Regions from separate parts of the Homo sapiens genome. Here region 1 is linked to region 2. The links are contacts of gene promoters, found by promoter capture Hi-C in blood cells and fetal thymus (Javierre and others, 2016). All regions are on one chromosome and are shown on one strand. Each heading gives the region's core, a stretch centred on a gene start or on the middle of the fragment in contact. The rest is flanking DNA. Distances are from core to core; before and after follow the strand shown.

Region 1 (3,347 bases), core at 453-2,952, 510 kb after region 2:
GAAATTAGCCCTTTGTGATATGAATTGCAAATATTTGTTCTCAGTTTGTCATTTGTCTTTTGACTTTGCCCATAGTGGTATTTGCCATGCATAATTTTTTTTTTTTTTTTTTTTGAGACAGAGTCTCGCTCTGTCACCCAGGCTAGAGTGCAGTGGCGTGATCTCGGCTCACTGCAAGCTCCGCCTCCTGGGTTCACACCATTCTCCTGCCTCAGCCTCCTGAGTAGCTGGGACTACGGGTGCCTGCCACCACGACCGGCTAATTTTTTTTGTATTTTTAGTAGAGACGGGGTTTCACCATGTTAGCCAGGATGGCCTCGATCTCCTGACCTCGTGATCCTCCCGCCTCAGCCTCCCAGAGTGCTGGGATTACAGGCGTGAGCCACGGCGCCCGGCCGCATAATTTTTTTTAATGTTTGCATAATTAAATTTTTCAATTGTTTCTTTTGTGGCTTCTGGGATTTCTGGTTTCCTTAGAAAGGTCTTCTTCACTGCAAGATTATTTTTAAAAGCCTAGAATTTCTTCTAGCATATGAATGATTTCATTTTTATTTTGAAATGTTTCATCCTTCCAGAATTTATCCTGGTGTGAGGTGTGGCTCCAACATAATTTTTTTCAAGACGGCTACACTTTGTCCAACACTATTAAACAATCCATCTTTACCCCATTATTCAAATGCCACCTTTTTCACCAACTAAATTTCCTGGATGTATTTAGGCATATTTCCAGTCTTTTGTGTTCTGTTGATGGTCCTGAACATATACCATCAGCAGATTGCAGCTTTGTACTATGTTTTGCTGTGGGCAGTGGGGCGATGCTCATACCCCAGCACTGCTTGTTTTCATACTTTTCTTGGCTATTATAGCTGGTTCATTTTTCCAAATGAACTTTAGAATGCTTGTTTAATTCCACATATAAAAATCTTATTATTTTTATTGTGTATCTCTTAAGTTTATAGGTAATTTAGGGAAAATTGACATGTTTGTGATGCCAAGTTTTCCAGTGCAAGTTCATTTATTCAAGTCTTTGAGCCCGAAAGAGCATTATAAAGTTTTCTTATCTCCTTTTCTTGATTGTGAACTCCCTGGGAGCAAGAATGGGGTCAAGTTTTGAGTATGGCTTATTAGTAATGATCTATATAATTACTGACAAAAGAAACATAATTTTCATTAAATATTTGTAGAACCTACTTTTTCCTAACATCATTGCTTGCCATTTTATGAGTTGTTTTCTGCACATCAAAGAAAGGCAAGATGTAGTACAAATGCTGATGTCAAATGTCAGCATTTTAATCCTTAAAGTCATCTCTTGATTGGTGTGTTCTTTCTTTATTTATTTTTAATAAAAAATTGTATTTGCTTAGAAGCATTCAGAATGTCAACAAAATGGCTACAACTTTTTCTTTTTTTTTTTTTTTTTTGCAATTACAGAGTGGTATTCACTTAACAACAGTCATTTTATATAAGCTGCATCAGAGACAACTGAAGATGAAAAAACTACCATCCCCATATATAACTAATTTGTGCCATGCACTAACAAGAACCTGCTTTTAATTTCCATGCCAGTTTACAATCCCCATACTGTACTAGGCAAGGTTGGTGGCTATTGAAAATACCACCAGGACAGGGATATCTAAAGACACATTTGGTAGTGTGTTAACTATACAAAAAAAAAAAGACATTGTACAGTTTAAAAACAAATCTTACACAGCCTTACATTTCAGTTTTTTTCTTTAAAAGGAGTGAGTTATGTACAGGTTAAATGCTTTATAGACGAGAAAAAAAACTACACTAGAACCAACTTATTCATCATCATCTTCATCTTCCTCCTCCTCATTCTTATCCTCTTCATCTTCCTCATCTTCCTCCTCTTCCTTCTTTTTCTTGCTTTTTTCAGCCTTGACAACTCCCTTTTTTTGCTGCAGCAGGCTTTCCTTTAGCCCGATATGCAGCAATATCCTTTTCTTACTTTTCCTTCAGCTTCGCAGCCTTCTTTTTATAAGGCTGCCTGTCATCTGCAGCAATGTTATTCCACATCTCTCCCAGTTTCTTTGCAACATCATTAGTGGACAGGCCAGATGTTCTCCTTTGATATTTGGGCGATACTCAGAACAGAACAGAACAGGACAGAACAGAACAGGAAGAAGGCCGAAGGAGGCCTCTTGGGTGCACTGGGATCCTTTAACTTTTTTTTTTTTCTTTTGAGATGGAGTTTCCCTTTTGTTGCCCAGGCTGGAGTGCAATGGCGCAATCTCAGCTCACTGCAACCTCTGCCTCCCAGGTTCAAGCGATTCTTTTGCCTCAGCCTCCCGAGTAGCTGGGATTACAGACGCCCGCCACCATGCCTGGCAATTTTTTTTTTTTTTTCAGTAGAGACGGGCTTTCACTGTCTTGGCCAGGCTGGCCTCGAACTCCTGACCTTAGGTGATCTACCCGCCTCAGCCTCCCAAAGTGCTGAGATTACAGGCGTGAGCCACCACACCCAGCCTGAACGTCTTTTTTGTCTCCCCTTTAGGAAAGATACAGGTTTTCGTTTCTCTTTCGTATGGGCCCTGTCTGCCTTTGCCATATCTTCGAATTTTCCTTTCTGTTTAGTAGGCATGGTCTTCCACCTCTCTGAGCACTTCTTAGAAAACTCTGAGGAGTTGACTGAAGCATCTGGATGTTTGTTCTTATGTGCCTCCCTACAAGTTTGCACAAAAAATGCATATGATGGCATTTTCTCTCTTGGCTTCTTAGGGTCTCCTTTGCCCATGTTTAGTTATTTTTCCTCAGCAAGGCACAGAATTGCCCAGTGCCCATCTGGCTCTCACTTGCCCCAGTGCTATCTCTATGGAGCTCATTGTACTGCAATGGCTGTGATATCGGGAGCCAGGTGCAGCCTCCTCACTCTCTCCGCTCTATAACATTGCTCTCCAGCCAGCGCAGCTCCTAGTTGATTAGCGTGTTCTTAAAAGAGCATTCTGTGTAGGTAATCCAGGGGCTTCACATTTAGGTATTTGAGTTTTCCTCCACTAGGAATAGTGGCAAATATAATGTGATTTTCCAGCTCTAATCTTCCCTCCCCATAACGCTGGCACAGATTTTGAGGTAGCCTTGGCCTGGGAAGTAGCCAAAAGGCACTGTGTTGGACAAAGAGCAGACCATTGGCATCTATGTGCATGTCCTCAGGAGAGAGGTGACTAGGCAGATGGGGACAAGACACGGGTGCTCTGTGTTCTGAGCGTCAGCGTACATCCTGTTTGGTTAGCACAGAGTGAGTCTGGGAACTTTGCACTTAGCACCTTGGCAGCCCAGGTCTGGGAATAGTGGTGCCTTCTCCTAAAGTTAGGTCACTAATCTTTGAC
Region 2 (3,381 bases), core at 110-2,609:
AAATGCAGATTCACTGGTAAACTATCTATGGCTTAAATCCCTCTGCCTCCCCAAAGCCTTCAGGGGCCTGGGTAAAAGGATTGATCTCTCTTGTGACCTCATCCCTTGTCCTGCTTCCCTCAAATTTGTACTCCCATCAGAAAGAGCTCCTAGCTTATTTCTCATCACAGGTACGTTTCCAAATCACTTCTGCTTGCAAAATGTGAACTAAGAGAAGTCAGACTGCTTAGGTAAGGATCTTTGGATTCTAGGTGTTTCTCCTTAATTTAAGTGTCAATTTCCTTAACTGTAAAACTGAAATAATAGTAAGGTCATTGTACAAATTAACTGAGTATTTTGCCTGGCACATCATTCGTGCTCACATAATACGTGTGAACTGTTTATTATTGTTCTTGTTATTACTCATGTTACACTGAATTTTCTTTCTTTCTTTCTTTCTTTTTTTTTGAGACGGAGTTTTGCTCTTGGTGCCCAGGCTGGATGGAGTGCAATGGCGCGATCTCGGCTCACTGCAACCTCCGCCTTCTGGGCTCAAGCGATTCTCCTGCCTCAGCCTCCCGAGTAGCTGGGATTACAGGCTCCCGTCAACGCCCGGCTAATTTTTGTATTTTTGGAGAGATGGGGTTTCATGTTGGTCAGGCTGGTCTCAAACTCCTGACTTCAGGTGATCACCTGCCTCGGCCTCCCAAAGTGCTGGGATTACAGTCGTGAGCCACCGCGCCCCGGCCTCATGTTGCACTGAATTTTCTGTTAACCTTGCTGTTTCCCTGCTGTTAGATAAACAACTCAGGATGCTTATGTGTTTATTGTGTGCATCCCACTGCCAAGCCCACGTAGGAACTTAATACTTAGGAGTCAAGTGTTGCAAAAGAATAAATGAAAAAGCAGCGCTGACGGAGGAAACCTGACTTTCAAAGTCTCTCTTTAGTGCCTACTGTGTATATTATTTCCTTGAATCCCAGAACACCCGAGGAGGTAAGGGCCGATGTTCCCAATCTGCAGATGTGGGTGTACTCAGTAAGTCATTCGGCCTTTGGTGGTACCAGGCTTACAGGAGCCCACATCCCGACCCAGGTAGAGGAGTGGATTGGAGCCGGGGAACACTGATGGGACCGGGCAGGGACGACAGGAGGTCAGTCTCCCTTCCCTTCTCTTTAAAATTTCCCGCCAGTATGGCCGGCTCGCAGCACGAGTTACGCCCTCTTCAGGAGTCCCTCCCCTTCTGCTCTCGCCCGCCTCCCCGCTGCCAGGCAGGCTCGACCAATCAGAAGAGGTCTTGGGCGGGCGCTGCCGTCCAGCGAGCCAATAGGCGGGCAGTCGGAGCCGGGCTTGCCCGGGCATGTGGGAGCTGCCGGCTTTCCGGACGCCACGTGCAGACCGGAAGAGACACGCGGGGCTTCAGGTGAGATCCAGGACCCTGCACCGGGGCGGCGGGGTCGGGCGGGCTGAGGCCGCGTGTCCCGGGTCGCAGGTCCCCGCGCGTTGTTTCCGCCCCGGCCTGCGGCGGGGACGCCTGAACTGGGCTGACCCTGCCCTACCGGCCCGCAGAAAAGCAGGCCGGGCGCCGCCTGTCTCCAGCCCTCGCTCTGCTCGGGGGTCCAGGGCCAGAGGGGGCGGCGCTGGTCGTTGGGACTCGGCCCAGCTGCCGCGGCCAGCAAGTGACCAACGCCCGAGTCCTTCCCGGTGAGATCAGGCCTCCCACGCGTCACGCCTGGGAGAACGCCAGCCGGCGGGGAGGTCGTGCCAGGATAGCAGACTTTAGTTGTTGTCGTTGTTCCGTGGACTTTTTAGCAGCACAGGGGACCTTATCGAGCCAGGTTTTTTCAGGTTTGGGCGATTATCAGAATTGTGGCTTGAGGGTAGGGGTCGTCCGCGCTCTTTTTAAAAATCTAGATTCTCAGGCCCCTTTCCCCAAAATAGCAATTAGGACGGTGTGGGAGTGGGCCTGAAAATCAGCCTTTCATCAGATGTCATATGGTAATTAACTACATTTGGGAAGCCCTTATCTAATTCACAGCCCTCGGTTGATGGTGAAGAGACGTGACTTGCCCCAGATCATCTAGCTACTTAGTGCCAGAGGAGGGTCTAGAACTGCCCTCTGCCCTCTTGATCAGCCAGCAGGTTGGTGGCTCTCATGCCACCGAGGATTCTGACTTCTTGGTTCCTTTGGGGCCTTTGCTCCATTGACTCTGCAGCTGGGACCCTTTCTTTAGGCCAGACCCCCTCCCTGCCTGAAGGCCGGGTGTCTGACCCCCAGAGCGCTGGGTCCAGGCTAGAGAAAGGCTTGTGTTTGTCCTTGTTGAAAGGGTTGTTTTATCTGAGCGGAACTTCTCTCCAGCTTCACTGAGCTACATTTGGGTCCCCAAAGAGGTGTGTCCTTGATGACTGTTGGTTTTGACGTGTCAGCATGTAGCAGGAGGAGCCGCGGACAAAACCCCACAGAGGTAGTGAAGGAATTGGCTTTTAATCAGCTGGAAGCATCGGCAGACTAGCATCTCAAAATCCGAGCTTGTTGAGTGCACAGTTTCTGTCCCTTTTAAGGACTCACAACACTAAAGATTTTACAAGAAAGGGCCATGATTGATTGAGCAATCTAGGGGGTATGTGACAGGGACTGCATGCACCGGTAGTCAGAGTGAAACAGAACAGAACAGAACAAGAGATTTCACAGTGTCCTTCTATACAATGTCTGAAATCTATGGATAACATCGGTTGCTAGGTCATGGGTTTAATTTTAACTATCAGGCTAAGGTCAGGCAGGCCCAGGCCTGGTTTTGGGTCTGGTTTTGGGTCTGGTGCGTGGCGCCGGGCTGCCTGCCTTTGGTTTTGCTTCCTTGTTTCTTCTTAAAACAGGTACTGAGTATAAAATAATACAGAACAATATGAGGGGGAGGTCTCTTTCTCTCTTCTCTTAAGCAAGGTCAGGGTGTTTGGAAAAGGACTACTTTCCTCTCTTGAAATAGGAGGCTACAGAGACCTTTTCTCAGATAACTTAATTTCTGGCTTCTTTAAAACCTTGCCAGTAGGATCAGGAAAGCCACCCACCCTACTCCTAGCCTCAGCCCCTCACAGAGAAAGGAGGGGACTATCCGCCAGCCCCCTTTCCCAAATTAGTTATTAGCAGGGTGGGCATTGGGCTTCTTAGGCTTTTTTCTCCCATTGCTGGGCTGAGGCAGATTAAGGTTCTGAATTTGTCAGTTCTAAGATGTGACTGTCAATATGAGGAAGTTGGTTACAGTTAAGACCTTTTTAAAAGAGAGACCTTTTCTCCTGGAAAGGATGGGATGAGCAAGCAGGGTGGATGAGTCAGGATGGGTCAGGTCTGGATGAGTCAAGTCAGGATGCGGTGCCCTGCCCTAGAGTGTGGGGATTCTTTATGCA

What was found. The method cuts DNA at HindIII sites, captures the fragments that hold promoters and counts their contacts. A CHiCAGO score of 5 or more calls a contact.
Region 1: a fragment that was not itself captured here is called in contact with the fragment with the promoter of AEN in region 2 in 2 of 17 cell types (total B cells and naive B cells); the score reaches 6.2 in total B cells.

What each region holds. Positions count from the first base shown.
Region 1 is chr15:89,133,741-89,137,087 of GRCh38, forward strand. The region is part of intron 3 of ABHD2 (abhydrolase domain containing 2, acylglycerol lipase); the gene reads left to right. It also overlaps the pseudogene HMGB1P8. Among named protein-coding and RNA genes, the nearest start is that of ABHD2, 47 kb to the left of the region's middle. The HindIII fragment of the contact is 5,708 bases long and covers 1-3,347 here.
Region 2 is chr15:88,619,981-88,623,361 of GRCh38, forward strand. AEN (apoptosis enhancing nuclease) reads left to right here and starts at 1,360. Exons shown (of 4, transcript NM_022767.4): 1 at 1,360-1,402. RefSeq lists enhancers at 568-1,241, 1,242-1,915, 1,245-1,404, 2,891-3,381 and a silencer at 1,425-1,614. The HindIII fragment of the contact is 13,176 bases long and covers 1-3,381 here.